Regions from separate parts of the Homo sapiens genome. Here region 1 is linked to region 2. The links are contacts of gene promoters, found by promoter capture Hi-C in human tissues and cell types (Jung and others, 2019). All regions are on one chromosome and are shown on one strand. The core of a region is centred on a gene start or on the middle of the fragment in contact, and the rest is flanking DNA. Distances in the headings are between cores, read along the strand shown.

Region 1 (6,729 bases), core at 584-3,083, 150 kb before region 2:
CCTGGTTCAAGCGATTCTCCTGTCTCAGCCCCCTGAGTAGCTGGGATTACAGGCATGCGCCACCACGCCGGCTAATTTTGTATTTTTAGTAGAGATGGGGTTTCTCCATGTTGGTCAGGCTGCTCTCGAACTCCAGACCTCAGGTGATCTGCCTGCCTCGGCCTCCCAAAGTCCTGGGATTACAGGCATGAGCCACCGTGCCCAGCCAGGCCCAGAATCTTAAAAGAAGGCTCTGCCAGAGAAGAGTAGTTATTAGATGAGAACTCTTCTTCTTCTGTAGCCTGATGCTTTGTTCAGCTTTGTTTAACTCAGTGTGGCTCATTATACGTACTTTTCTCTTCTTGGCCAAGTTCTCCTCTTATGGGTATGGAGATGACATGCTCTAAATGCTTTGGGAGCAAGCACTCATTAGAGAAGACTTTTGATGTATCCTTATCTTGTTAGTAGTTTAAGCTTGTCAGATCCTTAAAGAATGACAGGCTTAGGACCATATCCCCTAGACTTAAGAGGATTCTCATTGACCATTTGTTCAGTGTCCATCACTGAATCACTTACCAAATACAGTTGACACTCTGTATCCACAGGTTCCACACCCATAGATTCAACCAAATGCTGATTGGACATATTCAGGAAAAAAATGCATTAACACTGCAACAATAAAAAATAATACAGGCCAGGAGTGGTGGCTTACTCTGTAATCCCAACATTTTGGGAGGCCCGGGTGGGAGGATTGCTTGAGGCCAGGAGTTTGAGACCAGCCTGGGCAACACAGGGAGACCCCATCTCTACAAAAAATAAAAGTGAAAAAATTAGCCAAGTGTGGTGGCTATCAACTTGGGAGGCTAAGATGAGAGGATTACTTGAGTCTGGATTGAGACTGCAGTGAGCTGTGATCACTCTGCTGCACTCTAGCCTGGGGTGACAGAGTGAGACCCCGTCTCAAAAAACAAAAAAGTACAGTTAACTATTTATATAGTCTTTATTAGGTATTAGATATAAGTAATCTAGAGATGGTTTAAAGTATGTTGGAGGATGTGTGTAGGTTGTATGCAAATACCATGTGATTTTATATAAGGGACTTGAGCATCCTGAGATTTTTGTGTCCTTGTGGGTCCTGGAACCAATCCCCTGTGGACACCAAGGGACAACTGTACTAACCATGTGTCAGAAACTGCTACATGCCAATTTTGGAGAGAAGAAAAAAGCTTCCAATCTGTGTGCTTTCGGTGGATCCTATTCTGACAGTCTGTCCAATTTTGAGAACACTCATTAATTCATAAGCAGTGAATGTGATTAAGTCGTTCGCCTCTGTGCTAAATACTCAATGTAATAGCTGATAGCTGAGTGCTATAAAGAAAATGAAGCAGGGTATTGGGAGAATGCATCATGGTGGCAATTTTAGAGGGGTGGTCAGGGAAACTTCTTGAGGAGTGACATACATTTAAGTTGTGACTCTTGGCGAATAATGTATCCAGAACACTTACTATAGTACCTAGCACTTGGTAGCATTTGAATTAATTTGAAATTCAGTGTCCTTCTTTCTCTCTCTTACCCTCCTCCACATGTCAAGTAATTTCCAATTATAAATTTTGTGTGTGTGTGTGAGACGGAGTCCAGCCAGGCTGGAGTGCAGTGGCGTAATCTTGGCTCACTGCAACCTCCGCCACCCGGGTTCCAGAGATCCTCCTGTCTCAGCCTCCCAGGTAGCTGGGACTACAGATATGCGCCACCATGCTTGGGTAAATTTTTTTTCTTTTTTTTTTTTTTTGAGATGGAGTCTCGCTCTGTTGCCCAGGCTGGAGTGCGGTGGCACGATCTCAGCTCATTGCAACCTCTACCTCCTGGGTTCAAGTGATTCTCCTGCCTCAGCCTCCCAAATAGCTGGGATTACAGGTGCCCGCCACCACACCTGGCTAATTTTTGTATTTTTAGTAGAGATGGGGTTTCACCATGTTTGCCAGGCTGGTCTGGAACTCCTGACCTCAGGTGATCCGACTGCCTTGGCCTCCCAAAGTGCTGGGACTGCAGGCGTGAGCCACCATGTCCTGCCAATTTTTGTATTATTAGTAGAGATGGGGTTTCACTATGTTGGCCAGGCTGGTCTTGAACTGCAGACCTTAGGTGATCTGCCCACCTTGGCCTCCCAAAGTGCTGGGATGACACGCACGAGTCACCGTGCCTGGCCTTCAATTATAATTATAAGAAAATAAATTTATTTTTATATCTGAAGTTTAATAAAACTAATTCTTTAAGGAAATGGATGTGGATTAAACTCCTTATGACATAGTAAACAATCTTATGAGAGACATAAGAATGTGAGGGAAGAAGTCCTGTCTCCTCAGGGTGAATAAAGTAAATATTTTGGGAGGCTGAGGCGAGCGGATCATGAGGTCAGGAGAGCAAGACCATCCTGACCAACAAGGTGAAACCCCGTCTCTACTAAAATACAAAAAAATTAGCCAGGTGTGGTGGCGCACGCCTGTAGTCCCAGCTACTTGGGAGGCTGGGGCAGGATAATTGCTTGAACCCAGGAGGTGGAGGTTGCAGTGAGCCAAGATTGCACCACTGCACTCCAGCCTGCTGACAGAGCAAGACTCTGTCTCAAGAAAACAATAAAATTGAATAAATAAATAAATAAATAAAATAAATATTTGTGGAAGATAAAATGTGTTTGTAGGCCGGGCACTATGGCTCAAGCTTATAATCCCACCACTTTGGGAGACCAAGGCTGGAGGATCACTTGAGCCCAGGAGTTTGAAATGAGCATGGGGTAAATAGTGAGACCCTGTCTAAATTTAAAAAAAAAAAAAAAAAAAAAAAAGTCTTTGTCTATCCTTTCCCCCAGTTTTACTTACAGACCAAATTGGTATGGATTCTGAGTCACCACGATCTGCTTGGCAACTCTTAGTAGAGCCTGAGTGTGTGTGTGCCTCTGAGAAGGTTACTCCGAAGTACTTTGAGTTTTTTTGTAACTCTTTGCTATTCCGACTCTTGATGTGAAATGTCTTTTATTTATCATTGGCTGGTACTTGTAGGCCTAGGGGATGGAAATAAAGGAATTTTCTGCTAGCTTGCTTTGTCAAATATTGTTGGGTATGTGTGCCTTCGTGAAGTTGCTCAAGATGATAACCAAGGTCCCTCTAGCCTTTTCCTGGTGCCTAGATCAAGCTGTTAAACAGTAGGATGCTCTGCAGCAGTACTGAGCTTTGTGGCTGTGGTGACCGATCAGGGTATCACTTAGGCAGCAGCTGTCTATCTGGAGAAATAATTTCCAACAGGTATGAAGGTATGAATCTGTTAGTCTGTACCATCACCATTTCTGTCTAGGAGAAGGGGGCAGCCAGCAAGCACTGTCAGGCAGAGCCTTTCGTTCCACCCTTCCTGCAAAGTGTATTTCTAGCCCTGTCATATGCCCTTGGCTTTCTTTGTTGTCAAGTCTCTGGGAGATTGAGGGTACATATTATTTCCTTCTGCTTTGTGTGCCCTTGCACTGGGACTTGGGGAGGGGAGTAAGAAGTATTGTGTTAAAATGTTAATCCCTTTCATTGGTTGCCCAGTTGTGAGTACTAGCCCTCTCAGACTGTTGGCATTTGGTATGCAGGGATTAGCATTTTATGTTCTCAAGTATGCTGGTGTGATGCTTATTGTCTATTATTTGGCCAAATTAGTCACTAAAGTGCCCTTATAGAAGATAACTCTGGGAGAGGTATTTATTTCTCTGAAATTTTTATTCTCCTTTCCCCTTTCCTTTCCTTTCCTTTTTCTTTTTCTTTTTTTCTTTCCTTTTTCTCCCCTCCCCCCCCTCCCCTCTCCTCTTATTGGAGACAAGGTCTCCCTCTGTCACCTACGCTGGAGTGTAGTGGTACAATCATGGCTCACTGCGGCCTCGATCTCTTGTGCCGAAGTGATCCTCCCAACTCAGTTCTCTTTAGTAGCTGGAACTACCACCACCACAGCTGGCTATTTTTTTTTTTTTTTTTTTGTAGAGGCAGGGTTTTGCAACATTCCCCAGGCTGGTCTTGAACTCCTGGACTCAAGCAATTTACCTATCTCGGCCTCCCAAAGCACTGGGATTCCAGGTGTGAGCCACTATGCCTGGCCTATTTTTAAATTTTTATTTTTTTGAGACTTAGGGTTCTGTTCTGTTGCTCAGGCTGGAGTACAGTGGTACGATGAGAGCTCATTGCAGCTTTGAACTCCTGGGCTTAAGCAATCCTCTCACCTCAGCCTTCTGAGTAGCTGGACTACAGGCACCTGCCACCATGTTCGGCTAATTAAAAAAATAACAAACTCTGTTCGTAAAGATGGGGTCTTGCTGTGTTGCTCAGGCTGCTCTTGAACTCCTTGCCTCAAGTGAGCCTCCCACCTGGACCTGCCAAATTGCTGGGATTATAAGCATGAGCCACTGCGCCCAGCCTTACTCACCTTTTTGTATGACACTATCAGTCTTTCTAAAGTGCAAAGAAAAAGGGTTCTGTTATCATCTGATGTGAAAATTCCTTTAAACATTGACTTTTTCTGGTGTGAGGAATGAAAGCTGTGGAATACGTGAAGTTTTATGAAATAGTGTTTTTTTGTGTGTGTGTCAACAAAATTAAGAGAGTTTGGGTTATTGAAGATACAAGAGTGTTTTTGAAGGTATATATAGGAAACCAAATCTCAAATGTGGTCTGTCCTTGTGATTAAAATTAGAGCAATAGGGAAGCCAGGTGTGATGGCTCACACCTGTAATTCCAGCACTTTTGCAGGCTGTGACAGGAGGATCACTTGAGCCCAGGAGTTGAGTCCAGCCTGGGTAACATAGCAAGACCTCATCTCTACAAAACATTGTTAAAAATTAGCTGGGTGTAGTGGCACATGCCTATTGTCCCAGCTATTTGGAAGGCTAAAGTGGGAGGATTGCTTGAGCCTGGGAGGTCAAAGCTACAGTGAGCCGTGATTGTGCCACTGCACTGCAACCTGGGCGACAGAGAGATCCTGCCTCAAAAAAAAAAAAAAAAGCAACAGAGAAAGCTTATGTTTTTAGTGATGAGAATGCTATTTGTGAGGCCATGATGGAAAAAATTGAAGAACCTAGTTTGTTGGAAACTTAAATTGGTAGTAAAGACATAATACTATCTGAAACACTTTAGTACTTAAATTGTGTGCATTCCAAGCAACAAAACCAATAATCTGTAGGTTGAAGGTTGTAGTGTTACCTAAACAACTATCACCCCAAAAACACTTCATTGAGGAGTATCCAGCATCCTAGCCAGAGCTCAACTGTATAACTTATGGCTGGAATCATGCCATTCTTGCTGGAAACTTCAATTTCAGTACTTTTTCCTTATCACCCTCAGAAGGGTAGTAGTAGAAACATGGGGAACTGCATTCTAAAATGAGTGTATAGGTTCATAACCTAGCTAGAAAAAAAAATTAAAACAATTAATGAGTACAAACCAAGGGTTATTGAAGAGTCTCGCTCTCAAGAGAGTTGGGGTATTCAAGAAAATTGAAAGTGAGTTTAAGGATCGATGACTTGATTACACATTTTGGCTATTTATCCACTGATTGAGACTTTTTTTTTTGAGATGGAGTCTCACTGGTTCGCCCAGGCTGTAGCGCAGGGGTGCGATTTATCCACTGATTGAGACTTTTTTTTTTTTTTTTTTCAGATGGAGTCTCGCTGTGTCGCCCAGGCTGTAGCACAGAGGTGCTCACTGCAACCTCCGCCTCCTGGGTTCAAGTGATTCTCCTGCCTTAGCCTCCCGAGTAACTGGGATTACAAGCATGTGCCACCACGCCTGGCTAATTTTTGTATTTTCAGTAGAAATGGGGTTTCACCATGTTGGCCAGGCTGGTCTTGAACTCCTCACCTCAGGTGATCCGCCCGCCTCGGCCTCCCAGAGTGCTGGGATTACACATGTGAGCCACTGTGCCCAGCCCAGTGATTGAGACTCGACTGGACATGAAGCAGTATAATGTAGCAGTATAACATAGTATTCTGGAAGCAGACTACCGGGGGTTGCATTTCGGCTCCATCACTTTCTAAGGTGTACTTGAACAAGTGGCTTAACCTCTCTGTGTTTTAACGTACTCTCACACACATCTAGGGATTAAATAAGTTAATGCATGTAAGGTGATTAGAACTGGGGCTGGTGGCCGGGTGCGGTGGCTCATGCCTGTAATCCTAGCAAGTTGGGAGGCCAAGACGGGCGGATCACGAGGTCAGGAGATGGAGACCATCCTGGCTAACATGGTGAAACCCCGTCTCTACTAAAAATACAAAAAAATTAGCTGGGCGTGGTGGCGGGCGCCTGTAGTCCCAGCTACTTGGGAGGCTGAGGCAGGAGAATGGCGTGAACTGGGAGGCGGAGCTTGCAGTGAGCCGAGATCGCACCACTGCACTCCAGCCTGGGCGACAGAGTGAGACTCCATCTCAAAAAAAAAAAAAAAGAACTGGGGCTGGCACAAAGTGAATGTTGAGTGCATCTTTGTTGTTTTCACACAACTTCTCATCTGAAACAAAGTCTTAAGTTACAGCAGCTCTGGTCTTGGCTTAATGGAGTATATGGCAAAAAGAGGATTTGGTGGCAGTGCCTAGGAGGATTTTTTTTTTTCCCATCAACAATACTTCTCATTTAGCCTGTTGATTGATACGGATTATCAGGGGACTCCTTCCAGCTTCCCTAGTTGGAGTTTTTTTTTTTTTTTTTCCTTTTTTGAGACAGGGTCTCATTCTGTCTCCTA
Region 2 (6,212 bases), core at 2,379-4,878:
GAAGCTCAGCCAGGTCCACCCAGATCCGAGTGCAGTGTATCCCACGCAGCCGGGGCACACCTGGGAAGGAGGAGGAGGCTGCCCCAGGAGGGTATTCCAGAGGTGGATTCAGTGCAGGAGCTGGACCTGGCCTAACCAGCTGTGTCTGCACACACCCCTTCACCTGCGTGACCAGACTAGCACCAGGGCGGGCCATGGGGGAGGCTGAATGAAACTTAGGCCTAAGATCTGAGTGTCCTACCCAACAGGAGGGAGGTCAGGCCAGTAGGAAGCCAGCCTGTCTCTCTCCCTTCAGATGACGCCACAGGGCATCCTGGGTGGTTCTCAGGTGGAGTTAGAACAGCAGAGTGGCTTCTGGAGAGGAGGACAGAAGGATTGTGGGTGTCAAGGAGAGCACAGGGTGGGGGGCAGCCAGTCCAGAGGAGCTGAGAGTAGGGCAGGGAGTTGACTCCCTGAGTCTTGGCTTCTTGGCTGTGTTCCCTCTCCGATCTGGTGCTGCAGGGATTTGCTCTCTTATTTTTGCTCTCTTATTCACATGATAAAGATGCGTGGAGTTCCAGAAGTGCCCTGTGGGACTCCAGCAGGCATCCAGCTCCTGCGTGCCTATCAGGGTTGCAGGCCCTTGGCTCCATGTGGGCCCTGCAGCCTGGCCTTCCTGTCCTGGAGCTTTCCCACAGCCACTGAAAATGCCTTCTCCAGGCACCACAGCCTGGTGGCTCCAGGCCTCCCCCAACCCTCCCTACCTCCCCACTCTCCTCCCTCATGCTCAACTGTACAATGGGGACAACAGGGCCTGCTTCTCAGCCCAATTGTGAAGCACCTGGGGGTGAATAACCGCAAAACTTCCTGGCATGCAATGCCTCCCAACCTGGTATCCAGAGCTGGTTTTGAGGGGTCTGTGGACCTCTGAAATTGAAGACAAAATTGTGAAAAGCTATACAATATTCCCCTGAATAATATAATATACCTCGGAGATATGGCGGGTTTGGTTCCAGACCACCACAATAAAGCTAACATTGTAATAAAGCAACTCACAAATTTTTTTGGTTTCCCAGTGCATATAAAAGTCATGTTTACACTATACTGTAGTCTGTTAAGTGTGTGATAGCATTATGTCTAAAAAATGTACATATCTTAATTAAAAAATACTTTATTGCTAAAAAATGCTAATGAAGTGAGCACATGCTGTTGGAAAAATGGTGCTGATAGACTTGCTCGACACAGAGTTGCAACAAACCTTCAACTTCAGAAAACACAATATCTGCAAAACGCAATAAACCACAATAAAATGAGGTCTGCCGATATGTATATGCACACACACACACAAACTATAACAACATATTATGATGATACAAAATGCTCACCCCAGCACTGACACAGAGCAAGGGCTCAGTGTGGATTCACTGCTGCAATAACAATTTTTTTTGTATGATTATTCAGCCCTCTCGAATTGCTTAGGAAGGAATTGGCATTCCACCCCATGTAGCCAGGCTCAATTCTAGCTCTTTGCCCTCTTCCTGGCCCCCTTCCCTGGTCTCCCTGCCATTGAAGGCCTCTGTGTGCTGGGCCTATTCTGTGTGTCTGAGTGGAGCTTCATGAACAGATCAGTTGAGCCTCTTTCCTTCCCAACCCAGTACACTGGAGTCTCTGGCAAGTCCTGACAGCTCTTCCGTGGTAACCAGCATGATGCTAATGATGCTGGAGATAGTGATAGAAGTGGCCAGGCTATAAGGAGACCATGGAGGCTGTGAGAGGATGGAAGGGATGGTGTTGGAAGCCATAGAGATGGTGGCTTAAGCTGTATTGGTGATGGTGGTGCAGTGGTGGTGACCTCAGGGGTGACCCTCATACAGATGAGTGGGGATGAGGAGAGATGGATTGTCACAGTGTTTTCAATGAGGCGTGACAAAGGGGAGAGGTGCAGGTGCTGTCACAGCAGCTCCATAACTCCAGGATGGTGTTTGCTCACCTCAAATGCCCTGCCTGTGCTTGGAGCATGAGGCAGCACTCTAAGTCCTGAGTCAGGAGACCCTCAGCAGGATCCCTAGTGCCCAGCTCCACCTTGCACTTGGAGTCAACCAGTCAATGGGTCAGAGGGAGAGAGGTCTTTTCCTGGAGGTCTTGCTAGCCAGGGAGAGAAGTGGGAGGAGGAAGAAGGCGGAGAGGAGGAGTGAGAAGAAAAAGAGAAAGGAGGAAGAGGGTAAAGAGCAGGAAGAAGGAGGAGGAAGAAGAGAAGGAAATGCATGGGGTGGAGGAAGAGAAGGGAGAGGAGGAGAGGGCAGAGAAGGAAAAATCCAGGAGAAGAGAGGAGAAGGAGGAAAAGGAGGGAGATGGAAAAGAGGGAGAAGAGGAGAGAGGAAGAGGGAGAAGAGAGGGGAGAAGGAAGGAGAGGCAGAGGGAGAAGAGGAGAAAGGAAAGAGGAGAAAGAGGAGGGCACAGAAGACAGAACAGGAAGAGGATGAAGGAGAGGACAAAGGGCCAACGCCCCTGGGAGCCTCCGCAGGGTGCCCGGGGCAGGGCTGAGAAGTGGTCCTGGTGGTGAGGCCATGACCTTGGAAAGTTGGGTTGGGCAGAGGGTCCCTTCCTGGGGTCACGGTAGGCCCTTCTCAGTTGCTGAGCCATTGGCTCATCACCAGGCCATTTGAAAGCAAATGTCCCCTTGAGGAGAGAAGGTGCTAGCTGATCTGGCCTCTCTAAGGTATGGAACTATAAGGAGAGTCTGTGGGAGCTGCTGGCCTGAAATAAGGGCTGGCGATTGAGGCGATCACGGGGAGTCGTTGAATGGCTGGAGAGAGCTGTGTGGCTGGGCTGCCCCCGACCTGGCCTAGGCTGGAGGCTGAGCCCGCGGGAAGGTCCGGCGGTGCCAGCCGTCCCAGGGGCTGCACCGCCACCTGCTGAGCAGCCCGGGCAGTCAGGGGTCCTGCGCCGCGGGGCCCACGCACGGGACCAGGGGCACGGCCGGCGGCGAGTGGGAATGAGGGACGCGGAAGGGGGTGCTCAGGTGAGCGCAGGCTCGTTGCTCCCTGGCGCTGCAGCCCTTCTCGCCAGGGAGTTGAATGCCCGGGTAAACACCAGGCGCGATGTGTGCGGTGTATTCACAGAGAGACAAAGCCAGGGCGGGGCGGGGGCGCCGCCCGCGAAGCGGGGGCGGGGGCGAGGGGTGCAGACTAGTCTCCCCCGGCGCGGGGTGCCCACCGCCTGGGAACCCTGAGCCCGGCCCACGGACAGGTGGAGCGGGGGCGGGGCGGTGGCTGGGCGGGTCCCGCCCCGGGGGTGGGGCTGGGCGGGCCGGGCGGGGCGGGGCTGCGCTATGCAAATGTCGCCCACGGGCGGCCAATTGCCGGCGCTCCCCGCGCGGCTCTGAGCGCCCCGTCCCGCCGGCGGCCGCGAGACCAGAGCGAGCGAACGAACCGCGGCGGTCCGGAGAGCCCCGAGCGCAGCGCAGGACCTGGGTACGCCGCGAGGAACCGTGCAGCCCAGCGCGGCCGCCCGGCCCGGGTCCAGCAGCCAGGAGAGCGCAGCGCTTCGAAGCCGAGTGCGCGCCACCGCCCGCGCCCCGCGCTGGGGAATGCGCCCTCGGCGCGCCGGCCAGGGGGCGCCCGCAGCCCACCCCAGGGGAGGCGGCCCCGAGCGCCCCTGAGCCTTCCCATGGCCCGGGCTGGGGCCCGGGCCCTCGGCTGCTGACGCGCCCGAAGCCCGCGGAACCGGTTAAGCCGCGGCCGCGGCGCCGATCCCGGCTGAGGCGCAGCGGCGAGAGGTCGCGGGCAGGGCCATGGCCCCGGGGGGCCGCTAGCGCGGACCGGCCCAACGGGAGCCGCTCCGTGCCGCCGCCGCCGCCCGGGCGCCCAGGCCCCGCCGCTGCGGAAGAGGTGAGTGCAGCGGGAACCGGGAGGGAGCGGGCAGGCGGCCGGGCCACCCCGCGACCCCTCTGGGACCCGCGGCACTGCAACTCCGCAGAAGTGTCCGGGGAGCGGGTCTCGTCGAGCCGGGGGGCTGCCCGCGGACATAGGGGCAACAAGGCTGGGGTGGGATTCTTACCTGTCCTGGAGGCCCGGACCCCTTACCTACGGGGCGGCGTATGGATGTGTGGATGATGTGGCCTGCGGGGTCACCCATGTGCAAAGCAACTTTTTCCTGCAAGGTTCTGGGTGGGTGCTCTCATACACCCCCACCTTCACGCTTCTGGAGCGGGAGTTCCGATCCCCCTTCTGCCTCAGCTCTCTCTCCCATTAACGCCCGAGGCAGCGCTCTTCCCCGTAGATGCGCTTGCCCTACCTCAGTGTCTCTACTTGAGGACTGGCCAGCCCGAAGGGAAGCGGTATACTGGCAGTCCCCACGTGGGGGGTCTCCCACATCAGCAGAGTGGGAGGACCTCCAGTCCTGAGGCATTTCTCCCAGCATTGTGCCAGCCCCTTGACCCCCAGCTGCCACCTTGGGTTTGCTTTTACAGCAGAGTCCTGCCTGGATTAGGGGCACGGCTGTATGTAGTGTGTAGGTGAGCTTGGAGAGCCTGCGGTCAATCCCTAGTTTGAACCAGGGGTCCCAGTGGTGAAGTGGGCAGGGGACAGCGGGGGCTTGGCGGGGTTGCCCCCAGCAGATGGGACAGGAGGGTATCAAAGTTGGCCTAGGAATGAGGCAGTGCTGGCGGGAGTTGGCTGGAGCTGGGGCTGGGGGCCCCACTGGATAAATAACTCCTAATTTTTGAGATAGCTGTGTTTTGCCACCAGAACATTACTGCTTGGGAGAGGTAAGGGAGACGCCAACCAAAGACACCAGTATGTCCACCCTGAAGCTGGGCCAGGTTGGGGACCTCTGTCCTCCTGAATTCACCCAGATAGTCTCCCAGTAGTTATCCTAGTTGCAGAGAAGGGAAAACTGCACCCAGGGGTTGGGAGCCCCATCTCAGCCCAGGGAGTTGGATGGAGCTGAGGCCTCTTCCCAGGCTACCCAAGGGGTGTGCCAGGACCCCGTAGGGTATAGTGTCTAGGCAGGCGGGGGGCACAGGCATGCCTACTCCTGCTGCTCCCCCTTCAGCTCCGAAGGAGCCAGGCCCGGAAGTGGGGAGGTGGGGGCCGGAGAGAAAGCAGGGGCCAGAGAGAAGGCGGCAGCCCACCCAGCCTCAGCCCCTCGCTGCTCAGCATACCTTGGGGGGAGGATGGAGCCAGGCTCAGGTGACCTTGACTGGGAAACCCTGGCCACAAAAGGGGGGTTTCAGTCCCAGCTATGCTGGGGTGGCTCTGCTTCCTGGTCCTTGAGGTGTTGGGGGATGGGGAAGCTGAGGAGCCAAGAAGGAGACAGAGCTCTTGTTGAAGTGGGGGAGGGAATCTGAGGGGCTGGGTAGCGGGTGGGGTGCTGTTGATAATCTCCCCATGTTCCCCTACGGCCCCTGTTCCTGCCTCCCTTCCATCCAGGCAGTCCTCAGCTCGGAGGAGCCAACCTCCCTTCCTGGAGACAGGCTGTCCACCCCCACCCCCAACTCCAAGCCTGGGCGGTCTGGATCCGGCTGTACAGTTTGGCCACCTGGCCCCCTGTCCCATCCCAGGTGCCTCCGGACTCCTTCCTCTGGCCGCCTCTTCCCTGCACCCCTTGCCAGCCCCGGCTCCTCGTTTCTTTGTTCAAGCGTCTCTCCTCCGTCCCTCCCTCTCTCCTCCCTCTCTCCTCCTCCCTCCCGCCTGCCTCCCTCCCTTGCTCCCTCCCACCAGCCTTCCTTCCCTCCTTCTCTGCTTTCTTCCTGGTGGGCTCCCAGGTGGCGGTGGCTGTTCTTCCTCTGTCCACTGACCTGGGCTTGGTGTGACTTGGGGGCTTTTCTGGGGCTGGGGCTGGGTGACAGGCATCTCGGGACTGGCAGAGGGGAAGGCACTGTGGGTTTGCCCTTTCTTTCCCTCTCTGTCCTTCTTCTCCTTTTCTTCCTTCCCTCTCCTTCTTTCCCCCACCTGCCAGGCTGTCCAAGAGGGGACCTGGACTTGAGACTGAGGCCCCAGCAAACTTGAGCCCCTCCCCATTCACCTCTTTAAAAGGCCAAAGCATTTGGATGGGAAGTCCCTGTAGGGACCCAGTAGAAAGACTCCCCACCTCTCTGGACACATTGGGTGACTCCAACCCTGTCCTTGGTGACACTGACTTTGTCACCATGAACATGGATGAAGGAAAAAATGAGGTCATGGGGAGGGGGGAGGCGGGAGGCAGGTTGACAGGAGCCCCCGTTACATAGT

What was found. Contacts are between HindIII fragments. The study calls those that stand out against the background at their distance.
Region 1: a contact is called between a fragment that was not itself captured here and the fragment with the promoter of SEMA3F in region 2, in 2 of the 25 tissues and cell types used here (IMR-90 fibroblasts and dorsolateral prefrontal cortex).

The regions. Positions count from the first base shown.
Region 1 is chr3:50,000,512-50,007,240 of GRCh38, forward strand. All of the region lies in intron 6 of RBM6 (RNA binding motif protein 6), which reads left to right. Among named protein-coding and RNA genes, the nearest start is that of RBM6, 64 kb to the left of the region's middle. The HindIII fragment of the contact is 4,044 bases long and covers 1-3,855 here.
Region 2 is chr3:50,151,696-50,157,907 of GRCh38, forward strand. It overlaps SEMA3F (semaphorin 3F), which reads left to right and starts at 3,629. Exons shown (of 19, transcript NM_004186.5): 1 at 3,629-3,869. It overlaps LOC124909484 (basic proline-rich protein-like), which reads left to right and starts at 2,975. Exons shown (of 2, transcript XM_047449434.1): 1 at 2,975-3,001; 2 at 3,366-4,094. The coding sequence starts at 2,975. The coding sequence ends at 4,094. SEMA3F-AS1 (SEMA3F antisense RNA 1) reads right to left here and starts at 4,390. Exons shown (of 4, transcript NR_135301.1): 1 at 4,039-4,390. RefSeq lists silencers at 2,904-2,963, 2,974-3,113, 3,144-3,613. The HindIII fragment of the contact is 29,271 bases long and covers 1-6,212 here.